Regions from separate parts of the Homo sapiens genome. Here region 1 is linked to region 2. The links are contacts of gene promoters, found by promoter capture Hi-C in human tissues and cell types (Jung and others, 2019). All regions are on one chromosome and are shown on one strand. The core of a region is centred on a gene start or on the middle of the fragment in contact, and the rest is flanking DNA. Distances in the headings are between cores, read along the strand shown. Region 1 overlaps MYCT1 (MYC target 1). Region 2 holds the start of SYNE1 (spectrin repeat containing nuclear envelope protein 1).

What was found. Contacts are between HindIII fragments. The study calls those that stand out against the background at their distance.
Region 1: a fragment that was not itself captured here is called in contact with the fragment with the promoter of SYNE1 in region 2 in 2 of the 25 tissues and cell types used here (liver and mesendoderm cells).

Annotation. Positions count from the first base shown.
Region 1 is chr6:152,713,257-152,717,466 of GRCh38, reverse strand. All of the region lies in intron 1 of MYCT1 (MYC target 1), which reads right to left. Among named protein-coding and RNA genes, the nearest start is that of MYCT1, 17 kb to the right of the region's middle. The HindIII fragment of the contact is 4,742 bases long and covers 172-4,210 here.
Region 2 is chr6:152,634,808-152,638,912 of GRCh38, reverse strand. SYNE1 (spectrin repeat containing nuclear envelope protein 1) reads left to right here and starts at 1,551. Exons shown (of 146, transcript NM_182961.4): 1 at 1,551-1,724; 2 at 2,108-2,275. RefSeq lists an enhancer at 3,924-4,053. The HindIII fragment of the contact is 20,643 bases long and covers 1-4,105 here.

The DNA.
Region 1 (4,210 bases), core at 1,293-3,792, 78 kb before region 2:
CCCTCCCACAACATGTGGGAATTCAAAATGAGATTTGGGTGGGGACACAGCCAAACCATATCAGAAATCATTGCACTAATTCTTATACCTTGCAGAATATTAAAACACCTACAAATAATACTGCTGACAGAAGAATTTCTAAGACTTCCTGAGGTATATGGTAAAATACTTATCTATCTTCTTAAGCTCCCTTAAGTCCAAACAGCAAAGGCAAATGTAGAAATGCAGAAAGGCAATAAGAAAGAGATGCTGAGTCAAATAACAGGGGTGGTTTTCATACACATTTTTTTTTCATTTAATTATAGTTGATGATTTTTCTGACCTGCCCAAACTAGAATTTAGAAACTGTGTGATGAAAGCAGCATCTACTGGTCATACAGCTTTAAATTTTCATATATGTAATTCCATTCTGGCAGACTTTTGACAATGTATTTTGGGAGCCTTTTTTAAAACCTAGTGTAGAAGAAAATGTAACTGAAAAAAAAGACATTGGCAAAGATATTACTTTTTAAAAAATGATATGCCTTCTTACTTCTCAACAATCTAAGGAGAAGAAAAATGAGCCATAATCTTTCTTCTTAATAATTGCAATATAATGCAACTTATGAGACCAAATGATTACTTTTAAAAATGTTAACTTTCCTTTTGAAAGCAGAAGGAAAAAACTCTAACATTGGTCAGCTATGCCATATAAATTAAATATATGTCATCCTAATTTGTAATACGTACCTACAAAACTAGCAAGTAGATGGCACATAACAAGCCCTCAACGAACACTGGCTCTTACTGCTAATAGTTGTGTAATTTCCTCAAGTCATTTGACCCTTCTTGGCCTGATAATAACAGCCACGTTCGTGTCTTCCAATTTTAATATTGTAATATTGAATATGATTTTTAGTAAATATAATCAATACCTCAAATTCCATCCACTGGTATTAAAATTTAGTAGAGGTCACCATCTAGTGGCCTTGAGTTGAAGCATTCCAACTCTGAAAGTGATTTATCAGTGATGGCAGAATGTAACATTGTTTAAAACATTCAAAAACCCTTTGCAGTTGTTAAGAATCATAAGTTCAATGTTCACCAAAGCAGGCCATGAAGTCCTTGGTATCATAGAGTGTATAGGAGAATGGTTCAGGCAATAGAACTACTTTTGACGAAAAGGGCTTTTAGGGAGAATAATATTTAGGGCATAGAAATTTGATTGATTATAATAATTTAAACAGCCGAGGAGTATTTTCCATTATATCTCATGTGCCAGAACATCTTATTGGGTCTGTTTTCACAAACAAAAAGAAATCCAGAATTCAACTTCTCACTACCCACTCTGCGACTTCACTGATCCAAGTGGCCACATTCCCACATCTGTGACCTGGAATATGGTCTTCCTGCTTCTGTCCTTGCCATATCCCTCACACCCCAACAATGTGCTCAATGCAGTAGTCAGAGAGAACATTATAAAATGTAAGTCAAATCATATCAATCTTCTGTTCTAAATCCTCCACTTCTCCCAGAGTAAAAACAAATGCCTAAGAATATCCTAAAAGTCCCTACTTGATAGGCTCCCAATTATCTGAGCCCATCTCCTCTACTCTTCCTTTGGGTCACTGAGCTCTGTCTGCACTTCCCCCCTCACCATTCCTTAAGTACATCAGATGGGCTGGCTCCTGACTTAGGGCCCATCCCTGGTTGTAATCTATTCCTAAAATTATTTCCTCAGCTATCTGTATGGTTAATTTCAGGTCTTTTGCTTATATGTAAGTTTCTCATTGAGGTCTACCCTGGCTGCTCCACCTAAAATGACACCCTGTCCCACCTCTGAAGCCTAAATGGAATTCTTGTTTTTCTTTTTTCCTTCCTGGTTAATGGAAACTACATTCATTAATTTATACTCTAAGAAAATGTGAATGAGACGCATAACCATTATGAGCTGAAAATGTCATTATGTTTGAAAGATAGGAGGATAACATATATCTGGAAGGTTTAAAAAAGCTTCATGGAAAAAATAAATTGTAGATGCCTTTTTGTGAATGGTAGTGGTCAAATAAACAAAAGGCTTGGAGATTTGAAAGTAGTTTTGATCAAAATTATAAAGCACAAGCCATATTCTGAATATAATTAGTTAACAGTATTGCTAGAGGTGAGGGCAAATTCAAAAGTATCAAGGTAGCACACCCCTTTCTGTATATGATAGACTAACATGTATCAAACCAATGAGAGCAAGCGTACAATGGAGAATAAAATATTTTCTTAAATTTGTTTGAAGCCATCAGAGACTTATCAAAACTATTAAATCAAAGGAGCAAATTCCAGGAGAAAAGAAAATCTTTCATCACAATAATCTGTAAAAAGAAACAAAAATATCTGAGTAGAATGCTGTGCACTATAAGTAAGCTTAGAAAACATAAGTTGGTGTTCAGGGGCTGCCAAGGAAGTTGGACCCTAGGAAACATCCCAGAATCTGGAATTAGGCCCCCTAGGATCTACTCCCTAAGCTTAATGGTAAACAGGAGAAAGACCAGACCTCACAAAGATAAAAATATAGATCAATCCCAAGTTGGACTGAGGTGATCTTCCCCTAACTGCCAGAAGGAAAGTTTTATACATATATATGAAATAGAAAGTTATATACTTAAATAAATTTATATATACCTAATAATGTTATATATATATGTGTTATAAATAATAAATTACAAGTCATCCTAAGAGGCAAGACAAAGTAAACAAAAACTAAAAGAACAAATAGAAAATGGAAAAATATCTGTAAGTTATGAAAATATTTGAATTATCAGACAAAAATATTAAAATAACTTGATTAATGTGTTTAAAAAATTAACAAGTTAAAAATTTTCAGCAGAGATTGAGGATCTATAAAGAAAATTAAATAAAATACCTAATGAAAATTATAAAATATTTTAACTGAATTCTGATAAAATTGTGAAATATCGAAACATGTGAGATGTGCCTAAAGCCACATTCATAAGAACATTTATAGCTTTATAGGTATACATTTTAAAATAAGAAAGCCTACAAAAACAATTATTTCAGTTTCCATATTAAGAAGCTAGGAAAAGATCACTAGCTGAAACATAAGTAAAGTAGCATACAGTAAATAAGAGAAAGCAGAACTTAATGAAACAGGGGCAAAAAAAAAAAAAAAAGAAAAAGAAAAAATAGAGGAAATTATCAAAGCCAGATATGAAAAAAATCTAATAAAAATGAATAAAATACTAATTGGAACGACAAGGATGGAAAGAGGAGAGAAAGAGAAAGAGGGAAAAAGAGTGGGCAGGAGCAAGAGAAAGAGACAGAGAGAAAGAGAAAATCACCAATATCAAGAGTAAGAAATGTGACATTAGAACAGATACAGGCAATAAAAACATCAAGCTAGGATTCCAAATCAGCTTTTATGAACTGACCCTTTCAAGTAATAATGACTATGAACACTGAAAACAATATAAAAAAAAATTCTACCTAAAGGCCTTAAGAATGACCAAATGCTTGTAGCTACTGGAGAGGAGTTGAGACCTGGAAGAAAAGAACAGCAAGTACTAGTCAAGCTCCAGTTTTCAAACCTTTTAACCTGAGGGAAGCTTCCAGTCTGGGACAGGTAAAGCTACAGTCGAAAACCTGCACTGTTTCTGATCTTGAGAAACAAAGGACAGAGATTGTGGAAACAAGAGCTGCTGAGAATGTGAGAGGGAAATCCTGGAGAAGAGAAAGCCAGAGAGGAGAATCCCCAAATTTTATTTATAAACATTTCACATATCTTTGGTTGACTCCTGAATCACACATACGTGGGATGTATTCCAAACAGCACTAGAGAAAAAAAAATAAACTAAAGTGAGATTTAAGCTGCTGCCCAAGGGACAGGCTTTATAGGTTTCTGTAGTTGTAGTTCCACAGAGTTATTTGCCTGTGAAAATAAACTAGGGGGAAAACATACATCATAACACTCTTCAGGGTAATATAGCAGAATCCATTCAAAATGTTCAAGATACAATATGAAATTACTGGGCACATGAAGAAACAGGAAAATGTGATCCATTCTTAAGAGAAAAGACAGTCAACAAAAACAAACTTTAAGATGATCCAGACATAATTAGCAGACAAAAATTTTAAAGCAACTCATATGTCCATATTCAATGATTTCAAGTAAAACACTCACAATGAATAAAATGATAGGAAATTTCAGCAAAGAAATAGAAAC
Region 2 (4,105 bases), core at 302-2,801:
ACCCAAGAAAGTAGTTGCTTAACGTGTAGAATAGCAAGTTGGTGGCCAGGTGCAGTGGCTCACACCTGTAATCCCAGCACTTTGGGAGGCCGAGCTGGATGGGTCACCTGAGGTCGGAAGTTTGAGACCAGCCTGACCAACATGAAGGAACCCTGTCTCTACTAAAAATACAAAATTAGCCAGGTGTGGTGACGCATCCCTGTAATCTCAGCTACTCAGGAGGCTGAGGCAGGATAATTGCTTGAACCTGGGAGGCGGAGGTTGCAGTGAGCCGAGATTGCACCATTGCACCCCAGCCTGGGGAACAAGAGCGAAACTCCATCTCAAACAAACAAACAAACAAAAAGAATGGCAAAGTTGGCACAATAACTTTCTACCCATCTTCAAAAGCCGGCAGGGTGGATTGATTCTATGAAGGTAGGGATTGAGAGGGTGAGCTGAGCCATTCTGATCTGTTTCTTCTGAGTGGCAAGCCTGGAAATCTGGACCCCATTTTGTGGCCACTGGGCACAGAGGGCTGACCTGGAATAATTATGCTCTGGTGGTTGTCTCCACAAGGGGCTCTGGGGGTGCCCCAGGATTGTTGCCCTCAGGCAGAGGCAGGGCATACATTGAGAGTGATCCCAAACACTCCTCCTCCAGGCCCAACTTTTGGAGGTAGCAAGTTCTGCAAATAGAGATCCATTGTTTGGTTTCTCTCTCTAAAAAAAAACAAAAGTCAGCACAAAGAAGAGGAACACATCAGATTGGTTTACCAGATTTGTTTCAGATGTTATTATTTTGACACGATCCAGAAGAAGGAGAATTTGAAGAAAATGGAAAGCTAGGCAGTGGGAATGTTGGCAGCAGGTAAGGGAAAGGCAGGCAGCAAAGAGAAACTTCATCTACTTTATAAACTGCTCCTTCCTTTCAGCAAATTTAGAGGATAAATGACTGTTTTGTTCAGATTGGAGATTCAAGGGGGGGATTATTACTTTTAAGATTATTGCAACATGGCTTCGATTATTTTAGCTGCAATCATCCTGTTGGACTTGGACTTCACTGTTGGTGAAGAGAGACTGTGTTTGACTTTGCCTGGATACCATAAAACCACAACAAAATAAATTCTCCTGAATGCTACCAGGCAACACCAAGATCTCTTACACCACGAGAAGGACTTGTGGCCAAAGATACAAATGGCTCCGCAATGTACAGGGTGCATACAGTGCACCTGAAGAACCTAAAAGTGGTTTTTAGAATCATCATAATAAACAGTCAAGAATTAAAGATGTCAAGCGCTTTCTCAAGAAGTCTAAACTTTATACATAACATTAAAAAAGATCTATAAAGCCTGACCAGTCTCCCTCAAATTAAGTTATTTGCTACTGACTTGGCAGCCAAAACGATTTAGGATCTTTCGGAAGTTGATGAAAAAGGAGCCAGCGGGTTTTGCTCTTTGCTCTGCATCACGCCCTTCCTGGGACCATCAGGGAACCTCCCAGCCTTTCAGGATAGGTTCCGCTCAGAAAGGTCACCCGGGCAGTGGAAACCGTGGGCAAAAGTTAGCTGGCAGGACAGCGCAGCTCCTCCAGGCAGCGGAGGCAGCGCGTCCCGGCTCTCAGGGACATTTCCTTCCCACCTCGACCCCCGGGAGGTGGTCCCGGTATAAAGGCTCGCTGAGCGGGTGGGTCACAGCACAGCTTTGCAGCTGCGGAGAAACGCCCAAGGCCGTGCATCTCCAGGAGGTAGGGAAGCCTGCGAGCCTCCGGGTCCCCGCCCCCAGCTCTTCCAGGCACCGGCGCATCCCGGAGCCGGGCGCGGGGCGCGGGGCACGGAGCCGGGGAGGGGGTGTGGCGGGCCAGGGCGGTGCAGGGACCCTGCCCAGAGGCTGAACCGGCCTGGGCGACCTTCCTTCCCGACAGGAGCAGTAGATGCGTGGGGGAGGGCGAAGGGGGAGGCCTCACCCCCCAGCGAGCAGCCGGGAGGAGGAACCGGTCGCGGAGGGCGGGGAGCGCGGCTGAGCAGCCCGGCGCGGGAGTGAGTGTGGGCGAGCCAGCCAGGGTGAGCGCGGGCGCCGGGCCGCGGCCGCCGGCCGCAGCGGGCTGAGATTGTTGTCCTCTGTCACCAGGGCGGCTGGGCTCCCGCAGTCCTGCAGACCGCGCCCGATCCCGGCGACAGGGCGGGCGGACAGCCGCGCATCCCCGGGGTCCCGCCGAGCCTGGGCGCAGAGAGCCGGGAGGAAGCGTTCGCTCGCTTCGCCTTGCTGCTGGGAAACTGAACGAGGCCGAGAGAGAAGGTAAAAGGAAAGACAGAGACTGGGAGACAGGGAGAGACAGAGACAGGGAGAGGAGAGAGAGGTGCAAGACGAACACATTGCAGACAAATTGTCAGCAAGTTTGTGCCTGCACGCTGGGGCTCTGCGTGCTTGATGGGAGGGGGTGGTGGCAGTGATGTGTGTACGTGTGCGATACTCATAGATAAGGAGACTAGGAGGTTGGGGAGCCTCTTTGCATCTCGTACGTAGATGTCCCTATTAATATCCCCCTCTCTGAGTTGTCATTTCCGCTTGTGGCACATCTCCTGGGCTCCAATGGTGCAGAAGCAAAAGGCAGCCAGCCTCTTATTGTGATGGTCGGTACTGTTGCTACTATCAGATGGGAGAGGTAGGGCGTTGAACAGATTCTAGGAGCCTCCCTTCCTCCACCCCCTGACTATTTTAGGAAGGGCTGGGGGAGGGAAATGGCTTGAAGGCTGCGCGGAGGCCCTGGCGCGTCAGACTCCAGCGGCGCTGTCATGGTGCAGTTGCTTCCCGGCAGAGCCTGCACTAGAGGGCAAGAGAACTTTCGTCTCCTCTTTATAAAGATACGTTTCACATAGAGAGATCTTGCATTGCTGGCGGAGGAGTTCTGGGAAATGGTGGTGCACAGGCGGCCAGGTGCATCCCAACGGGCAGGCATCCGTGCAAAACGAAGCAGCCATCAGCCGCACAGGAAGAAGCCCCTTGGGAAGGCAGGCTGGGTGTGCTGACTGGGATCCCAGACTTTGGATGCTGGAAGTTCTGCCCCCTTCCGTAAATAGAGTCAGGTCCAGCCCAGAGGGAAATATCAGCAATGAAGCCTTAGCATCCCACAATGTTCATTTCTGAGCTTTTCGTTTTGGGGTGGAAAACTTGTATCTGAAATGTTCCTGTGAATGTTAAGAAAGTTAAAAATGAATTATTTTTCTCTTCTTTAATGCCCATCCATTTTTTGTCTTCATCTGAGAATGACTTTCCTAAAGACAACATTCGTATACAGAAGCCAGACCTATGCAAGAGAAAGTATAATAATTTTCAATGAGGCAAAGGTCATTAATATGACCTACATCTTCATAAAATGCGAATTTAATCACGAGTCATGACGATTGTTCTTTGAGAGGCTTTTTATTCCCCATGGTGAAAAAAGATTTGTAGTATGGCTAAAAAGTTCCTGATATCACCGGAACAGTGTGACAAAATACATATCTATTTTTTCTTTTCTGTTCATTACTTTGTGGCAGATTTAGAACAAAATGTGAGAGATCTATACTAACTTAATATGTTTCATGCTGAAGATTAAGAAACAGCTTCAGACTGACCCAGATAACAATATTTGCTAGGCTTTGGAAATATTTGCCTAGCTCTTATTTTATAGTCTCACTTTCATCTTTCTGAACTAATGATTTTCACAAACTGGTTTTCTTCTGTCCTCATTGACCTCATTTAAGAACTCTTTTTTACTTGAGTCCTTCCTGCCAGGGAGAGGAGATTGGAAAAAGCTAGTTTGCCATTTAAAAATGTTCAAGAATTGTTTGGTGCTGCACTGGGCCTACTTTCTGATAACTATGCTGCACACACAGCATCTTGGAAATGAAAGGAGGTGTGACTGTCACAGGATGTAGGAAGCCCATAACTGGGCAAGGTTGGTGGCATTTTCACAACTCCAGCTCTAGCTACTGCAGCCACACCCTGTGGTCTGAATGTGACAGGCATGCAGGGCCCAAACGCCTCTGCGAGGTCCTCTGTGTGTCTCCTCTTAAATGTGTACTTCTTTGTGGTCTAATCTAACGAGAACTAATGTTTGGCAAGGTGTGCAATATACTGTAGCAA